Regions from separate parts of the Homo sapiens genome. Here region 1 is linked to region 2. Evidence: promoter capture Hi-C in human tissues and cell types (Jung and others, 2019). All regions are on one chromosome and are shown on one strand. Each heading gives the region's core, a stretch centred on a gene start or on the middle of the fragment in contact. The rest is flanking DNA. Distances are from core to core; before and after follow the strand shown. Region 1 overlaps PLA2G6 (phospholipase A2 group VI). Region 2 holds the start of KCNJ4 (potassium inwardly rectifying channel subfamily J member 4).

The links. Contacts are between HindIII fragments. The study calls those that stand out against the background at their distance.
Region 1: a fragment that was not itself captured here is called in contact with the fragment with the promoter of KCNJ4 in region 2 in 3 of the 25 tissues and cell types used here (dorsolateral prefrontal cortex, heart left ventricle and lymphoblastoid cells).

Annotation. Positions count from the first base shown.
Region 1 is chr22:38,171,725-38,175,626 of GRCh38, reverse strand. The region is part of intron 1 of PLA2G6 (phospholipase A2 group VI); the gene reads left to right. Among named protein-coding and RNA genes, the nearest start is that of PLA2G6, 8.2 kb to the left of the region's middle. RefSeq lists a cis regulatory region at 1,445 and an enhancer at 1,373-1,517. The HindIII fragment of the contact is 3,596 bases long and covers 324-3,902 here.
Region 2 is chr22:38,452,925-38,456,842 of GRCh38, reverse strand. It overlaps KCNJ4 (potassium inwardly rectifying channel subfamily J member 4), which reads left to right and starts at 1,644. Exons shown (of 2, transcript NM_152868.3): 1 at 1,644-1,863. RefSeq lists an enhancer at 3,748-3,918. The HindIII fragment of the contact is 19,664 bases long and covers 1-3,918 here.

The DNA of each region.
Region 1 (3,902 bases), core at 872-3,371, 280 kb after region 2:
AAGAGATTTGTTCATTTGTCCTTTGTGGAGCACACATTCAGGTTAAGAAAGTGGGGAGGATGGGCTACGCTGATGGAGCGTATGTGTGGTATCCCCAAGTGCACTGAGACACGAGTTTGACGTGTTCTGGGAAGATCGATGGTGCGGCGTGGCTGGAGTAGAGGTGAGGGATGAGTTGGAGGGGTGAGTTGGGCCAGCTCTCATGGATGCTGGAGTCTGGGCTTTCCCTGGGAGGTCATGGGGCGCCACTGGCCAGGGTCAGCAGGGAGACCTGCAGCTGGATTTGCATCGTACAGTGGGCATGGAGGGGTGTCAGGCTGGGTTGGGAACCGTGCAGGCTGGAAGGGCACTCTGGTGCTCTGAGCATTCAGAGGGGGCAGCTGGGCCTTGAAGGATGAGCAGGGGCTCCAGCAGGAACTGGAGAGCGCATTCCAGGGAGGACGCAAGTGCAGGCCCCTTTCACTACAGAAAAGCAGTTTTCACACAGACCTTCCAAAGGGGAGGAGAGGGGACTGCCTGGGCCTGGCAGCTGCGGCAGGTAGCAGCAATCAGAGGGCAGGGACCGCTCCTCCCGTGCCTGAGACCTGCCCAGGGTCCTTCAGGGAATTCGTAGCTGAGGAGGAACCAGATTTTTGGGACTGAGTTCTCCCTCACCACCCGCTCTGAGCCACCCTCTTGGTCCCTTGTCCTCTACTGCACTTCTTCCGGGGCTTGGCTCCTCGTCATGAGAGGAGCTTCCCTGGGCATGGCGAGGGGCGTGACTGACATAGCAGCCCTGGACAAGTGGCTCCAGGTGACCTGTGTTCACGTTGATCACAGCACTAACCACGGCCCCTCCTCTCAGCACCTTCCCCTCTCGAGCCGTCCAGTCCCAGTGAAAATGCTCACCGTTCATGGGTGGGCTGAGCAAGCCCCTGATCTCTGCCTTCCTCCGTGTTCTGATCTGCTTCATCTGCTGTGAAGGCCTCTCGCCATTTCCCCCGCTGGCAAACTCCTGTTCTTCCTGGAAAGTTCAGCTAAAAAGTCATCCCCTTTAGGGGTCCTTCCCTCAGGGGACCGTGCACTTGGCGAGACAGGGACTGGTCTTGGGTCTCTCTGTTGACTGTTTTATGAACCCAGGTAGTCACTTCCAGGGAACTCATCAGAGATGCTACCATTGGCTCCAATCTCCCTCTGTTCCCACTCGAGGTTTTTTGTTTCTTCGTTTGTTTTTCTTTCTTTCTTTTTTTTTGAGACAGAGTCTCGCTCTCGCCCAGGCTGGAGTGCAGTGACATGATCTCGGCTCACTGCAAGCTCCGCCTCCCGGGTTCACGCCATTCTCCTGCCTCAGCCTCCCGAATAGCTGGGACTACAGGCACCCGCCACCACGCCCAGCTAATTTTTTTTGTATTTTTAGTAGAGACGGGGTTTCACCATGTTAGCCAGGATGGTCTCAATCTCCTGATTTCGTGATCCGCCCGCCTTAACCTCCCAAAGTGCTGGGATTACAGGCGTGAGCCACTGCGCCCAGCCCGTTTGTTTTTGTTTTTTGGTGGACATCAACTTTAATTTGCCCTTTGTTTTGTTTTGTTTTTGAGGCAGGGTCTTGCTCTGTCTCCCAGGCTGGAGTGCAGTAGTGCAATCTTGGCTCACTGCAGTCTCGACCTCAAGAGGATCAAGCAATCCTCTTGCCTTAGCCTCCCGAGTAGCTGGGACCACAGGCGCACACCACCATGCCCAGCTAATTTTATTTTATATTTTGTAGAGACAGGGTTTTGCCATGTTCCCCAGGCTGGTCTCAAATTCCTGGGCTCAAGCAATCCGTCTGCCTCAGCCTCCCAAAATGCTGGAATTACAGGCACGAGCCACTGTGCCCGGCCTTAATTTGCCCTTTGAACATGTACAATTCAGGGCCTCTCTGGGCCTCAGTTTCTTGATCTCTGAGATGGGAAGATGGGATAATAATACTTGTTCCTCCCGTCCTTCAGCTCCTCCAGGGGACCCTCACACCAGCACACTCTCTGTCAGTCTTCCCTCAATGAACCCAGCAGGCAAGCTTGGTTTTGACAGAGGATGGGTGAGCAGAGATAAGGAAAACGGCCAGAAATATCTGGCTTCCCTCAGCAGGGGCACCAAAATTGGTACCTGGAAATTGCCTGGCTTGGACAGGCAGAATTGTCACTGTCAACCCCCACCACCAAAGGTCTTGGGTCTTTGTCTTTCTGCTTGTGGTGTTTGAGAGAGCTGCTTGACACAGCCGAGGTGCGGTCTGTGTCAGGTGACCTGGGCATCCTGGGGGTGCAGGGAGAAGCCCAGGTAAGGAGGAGGAGGGGCCGGTCATCAGTGGGGAAAAGTGATTGTCTACCCCACGGGAAGGTCAAGGGTAGGACGCTGTGAGAAGCCAGGGGGAGAGATGAAGTGAGGCATGATGCGGGGGGCCCTCATCCACCATCCCCCTCTTGCAGCTGTGCTGGGAAGAGCCTAGGCTCCAGGGTCCAAGGTGGCAGGGACAGAAGGAAGCACGTGTGAGCACTTTCTCCCTGCTGGCCCGCCTTCCTGGTTGGCAATGCCGTGAGTGTTCCAGGATGTGGCCCCGTGGCTGTCATTTCCTTTCTTCCACCTAGTGATAACAATGGCCACTGTTTGTGTGCCCACAGTCGGCCTGTGTCCCAGACACCTTCCCTCCATTGCGTCATCTCGTCCTCCTGCCTACCCTGAAGGCTGGATGCCAGCCAAGCCTGTCGTTTCTGTGGCCATGCTGTCGTGGGTGTGTGGGGGGCATCCCCTAGCCCCAGGCTCTGGTGGGGGGTACACAGGCTGGGCCATTGACGAAGGGGTGTGTGGAATCTTTCTTTGATTTCACTGCACCCCTGGTGACTTTCTCCCTCAATCTGAGGCTCATGGGTGCTGGATGCTCTTGACTCTCTGCCCTTCCTGGGCGCACCCCTCCGCGTCCCTGTGGGCCCGTCCTCGGGGTAGCCTCTCTGCGCTCTTCCAGGCCAGGCCTGAGTCCCACAGGTCCCCATCTTCCCGGCTGCAGCCCCCAGAGGCTCAGCCTATACTGCTACTTCCTTTGAAAACTATAATCGCTTTACATAGCATCTGGAAAATAGGGAAAAGGAAAAAACAAAAGCCCATAAACCCAGCACCCTCATCTACTCAATGGCATGTTTTCTGTCAGTCTATCTTGGTTTGTTTTCTATCAGGCTTTGTTTTTTCTATGCATAATATTTACTCAGTTAAATTTTTGTTTTGACAAACTTTCTGTGAGCCAAGCTTGTGGACGGAGATGAAAAGACGAGCAGCTGCCTTTGAGAAACTCAGACTCTGGGCCAGCCCATCTGGGTGCCAGCTTTCACTGCTCCACCCACTAGCTGGGTGACCCTGGGCCCGTGACTTTACCCCTCTGTTCTTTGGTGTTCTCATATGTAAAATGAGGATAATAATAGTAACCAGTTCATAGAGTGGTTGTCAGACAGAATGATTAATGTACGTAAAGCTTTCAGGATGGTGCCAGCAAGATGCACAGGAGTGTTTGGTAGGAGGATGACGAAGCTTACCGTCTGGCAGGAGGGGCAGTTGTAACATGCTGGGCTGTGATAGTACAGATGTGTTTAAAGTGAGGGAGAGCCCAGAGCAAGGAGAGAGAACCTGGCATCTGGTGATGGTGTATCAAGAACATTTTAGGCCAGACACGGTGACTCACACCTGTAATCCCAGCACTTTGAGAGGCTGAGGCAGGCAGATCGCTTGAACCCGGGCGTTCGAGACCAGCCTGAGCAACGTGGTAAGACCCTGTCTTTATAATTTTTTTTTTTTTTTTTCTGAGACGGAGTCTTCACTCTGTCACCTAGGCTGGAGTGCGGTGGTGCTATCTTGGCTCACTGCAACCTCCACCTCCCGGGCTCAAGTGATTCTCCTGC
Region 2 (3,918 bases), core at 395-2,894:
GGCTCAGGAGAGCCAGAGGGGATTTCAGATTTCATCAGTTCTCCACCTGGCTTTGGGGTGCCTCGGTCTCTCCCTCTCTGTAATGGGGCTAGTCGGTGATGGCCAGACTCCCAGGGAAGTTTTGCTGGCTGTCTAACTGCAGGTGTTCTCTCGTCCTACCACCCTGGAAGGAGGAGCACTTTCCCTCCTGTCTCCTCGGAGGGCTAGAGTGACGTGGCAGGATGGTCAGGATGTAGCTGGCTAGACAGGTGCTGTGGGTGCTGGGGGTTCCCTGACACCCCAGAGTGTGGGGCCCAGGCCTGACAGCTTGGGGTAATGGAGAGCGACAGAGAATAAGAGACTAGGGTTTGGCCTGGCTTTGTCATCTCTGGGTGACCTTGGCCGAGTTTCTGACCCTCTCTGGTACCCAGTCTCGCCATCTGTAAAATGGGGCAGTGGTGACTGAGTGATCGCGAGGGTCCCTCCAATAGGGCCCCCTCAGACTCCCAGAGTGAGGTGCTTCGGGTCCTTGACCGGCGGTACTTTGGGAGAGTACGAGGACCGCTAAGGAGAGGGGCGGACTCCGTGGGACCCCAGAGGGACCAGCTCCCACCCACCCCCCTTCCCGGCTCGGAGGAACCCTCTCCACCTGCCCCCTTTTGGGGGGGGGGCACAAAACCCGGGAGCGGATCCAGGAACGGGTTCTGGGAGGAGCGCTCCTGGGGCGAGGAGGAAAACCCGGGCAGGATCCAGGGCAGGAGCGGGGCCAGCAGCCCCCCGCCCCAGCCCCTGCTCCGCGCCGCGGGCCCCGCGGGAGGGGGCTTGAGGCCGGGTTAGGCCGAGGGGCGGGCAGGGCGGGGTCCCGCGGGCAGCCGGGGCTCCCGGGCTGGGGGGCGCGCGGCCTCCGCAGTGGGGCGCGGGTCACGTGTGAGGAGGGGCGAAAGTCTCGCAAAGCGGGGCGGCGTGCCGCGAGTTGGGAGTTCTCGGCGCGCCGCGGGCGGCGGGAGCTCGGGCTCCCGGGCGAGCCGGGGACGCGGCCAAGGCGGGGGCCGGGGTCCGAGACAGAGGGGGCCGCACGGAGAGTGGGAGGGGGAGAGACAGAGAAGGACAGGGGCCGCGAGGGAGACGGACAGAGACGCGCAGGGGAGAGAGGCAGCGCGGGCAGAGGGAGGCGGGGGGAGGCCGGCGGGCGACCGCGACGGAGACGGAGACCCCGCGGGCAGAGGGCGAGCGGGGCCGCAGGAGGCAGGGAGGCCGGGAGAGGGACCGGGACGCGAGCGCGGCGGAGACCCCGGCGGCAGGAGAGAGACGCGAGAGCGGTCGGGGAGGTGGCGACAGAGCCCGGCCGGCGGGGGCGGGGAGGGCGACCCCAGGCCGGGAGGCCGAGGGGTCGCGGGGCCGGGGCCGAGCGCAGCGGGGCCGGGAGTGGAGCGCAGGGCCGGGGGCAGAGCGCGCGAGCAGGAGCGGGTGACAGCGAGGGAGCTGGGCGCAGCGGGGGACGGCGGCGGGGAGGGCGCCTGCAGCGGGGGTGGGGGGCGCGGGCGGCGGGGCGCCCCGGGCCCCCGGACCCCCGCGCTGTGAGCCCGGCCGGGCCCGACGATGCTGACGCCGAGGCGGCGCCGAGGGCGCGGCGCGGGGCAGCGCTGAAAGTTGGGCGGCCCGCGGGGAGCGGCGCGGGACGGCCGGGACGCGCGGAGACCCCAAGACCCACGCGCAGACCGAGCGGCAGCCGGGGAGGGGAGCGCGGGCCGGCCGGCCGAGTTCGCGGGCAGGGGGCGCCGGGACTCCCCTTTCCGCGCCCGGGACGCCGCCCGCCGGATCGCGCCTTGGGATGTAGCGCCCGCTCGCCGCCTCCCGGACTCTCGTCGGACCCTCCGCCCAGCGGTAAGCCGCGCTCGCCCACCCCGGGCGCTGTCCGTCAGTTTGTCCCGCCGCGTGCGTGTCTGTGTGTCCCGGGCCCGCCGCTCCGGCCCCGCCCGCTCCGCACCTGATCCGGAGCCGGGTCCCGGCTGCCCGGCGCCGCGCGCGCGGTCCCGTGACTCCCCGGGAGCGGGCGGGCTCCACGGGCGGGCTCTGTCCGTCTGTCCGTCTGGGAGCGTCGCGGTCTGGGTTGTGGCCTGGAAAGGGGGAGAGAGGTGGGTGGAAGGGGTCTTGACCTCCTGCCCCAGCCATGACCTTTCCCTGCCTCCACCCACCCCAGTTGTCATGCCGGGGAGCTTCAAGGCAGGTGACTTGTGGCAAGGTGGGGGATGCCGCCTTTCCGCCTCCCCAGCTGCATCCTCGTTGCAAATGGCCCTGTGATCTGAAGAACGAAATCTCACTTCTCATGTTTTGAGCACCTACTTGGCGCCACACGACCCCAGGGCGCAGGGGCAGGGATTGGTAGAGGAGGCACTGCACGTTCACAGTGATAGACACAGGCTGGGGAGGGAGGCAGAGGCTGCTTTTTCCTCCGTGTGTAGGGAGCACCCCAAGGCAAGAGAGGTCTCAATGAGCCTCCCGCAGGGAGAACTTCCCCTGCAACCTGCCAAATGTCCCCCCACCAGTGTCAGCCTCCCTGCCCCCTACCCACATTTCTGCCCCCAGTGTCCCTGCTTCAGGATGGACAGGATGCAGGGAGTTGGGAGGTGGCAAGCTGGGTGGGGTGGAGCGGCGGGCTAGAGGCAGGGCAGCCTGGCCAGCTGACAGAGCAGGGCCTCAAGAGCAGTAGAATGTTCAGCAGCAGGTTTGGGGGAAGTGGGGAACTCAGGGAGGGAGGCCCAGAGAAGGGTTGGAGCCGTGTGTGTGTGTGTTCTCCCCCACATCCAGTCCCATGACCTCCATGGCTTCAGGCCTTTTGGGGGCAGTTAGCAGGACTTTAGGGGCCCAAGAGCCTCACTGTGGCCCTGGCTTGGCCTGTGCTGAGGGGAGCAAAAGGTGGACCAGGGCAGCTGGGGTAAGAGATGGGTGCAGCATGGTGGGAACAGAGACTGTTGGCCACTGAACTGACCCATATCCCAACTGGAGTTGGAAGGGCTGAGCCTAGAACATTCCACTCCATTCTCACTGGGAGGAGGGACTCTTTCTGGGGTGTTCCACACTGGGCAGTGGGTCTCATATGTCCTCCATTCAGCCTCCCAGAAATTAGCTCAGGTGGCTGGGAGAGCAGCCCCCTGGGCTGGTCACTCTCCTCCCAACCGTCATCTTCCACATCTGTGGCATGGGGACGTCACTCCCTGCCCCAGTGACCTCCAAGGCGGGCCCTGGGCTCAATGAGCAGTGGGCTGTTCACAGGCTGGGGAAAGCACTGGGGAGATGGGAGTAAAGACTCACTTTACCTTAAGAGAGATGAACAGCTAGTGGGTGGAGGTGGGCGTGGGGCAGTGGGAATATGGCGGAAATAGCTGACGAAGGAGGAGTGTCCAGGATTAGAGGGGGAATCTGGGGTACAATTCCTCATGGCCCTTTGGGTTATCCTTGAAAAGAAAGCTCTTCTCTCAGAAAATCCTCTGGAGTGGCTGTGACCAGGCAGAGCTGGTTGAGTTTCTGCTGGGTGACCTTGGGTGGGTGGCTTGACCTCTCTGAACCTCAGTTTCTTCAACTGGAGAATAGGTATGATGATACTGACTTCATCAGGGTGTTGAGCAGTTTCCAGACTGTGTCAGGTCTGTGAAAGCCGCGTGCGCCAGCCTGGAGCATAGTAGGTTCGTAGACATTTGCGAAAGAGAGAATGAAGTAGCTCTGGGAGATGCTGTGAGAAGATGTCTTAGCTTAGGATAAGAAGGAAGGGGAGGAGGAACAGTGTAGGCTTACAGGGCGGGCTGGTTCTTAATGTGGATCTGGGGGAGGCGGGGGCGAGTGCTAAGGGGGGTGTGAGGAGGAGGGGGCCCCTCTGCGGGGACCACTGAGTCACGAGGACATGTAAGCGACATGACAACCGGCAACATGGTAACCAGGAAA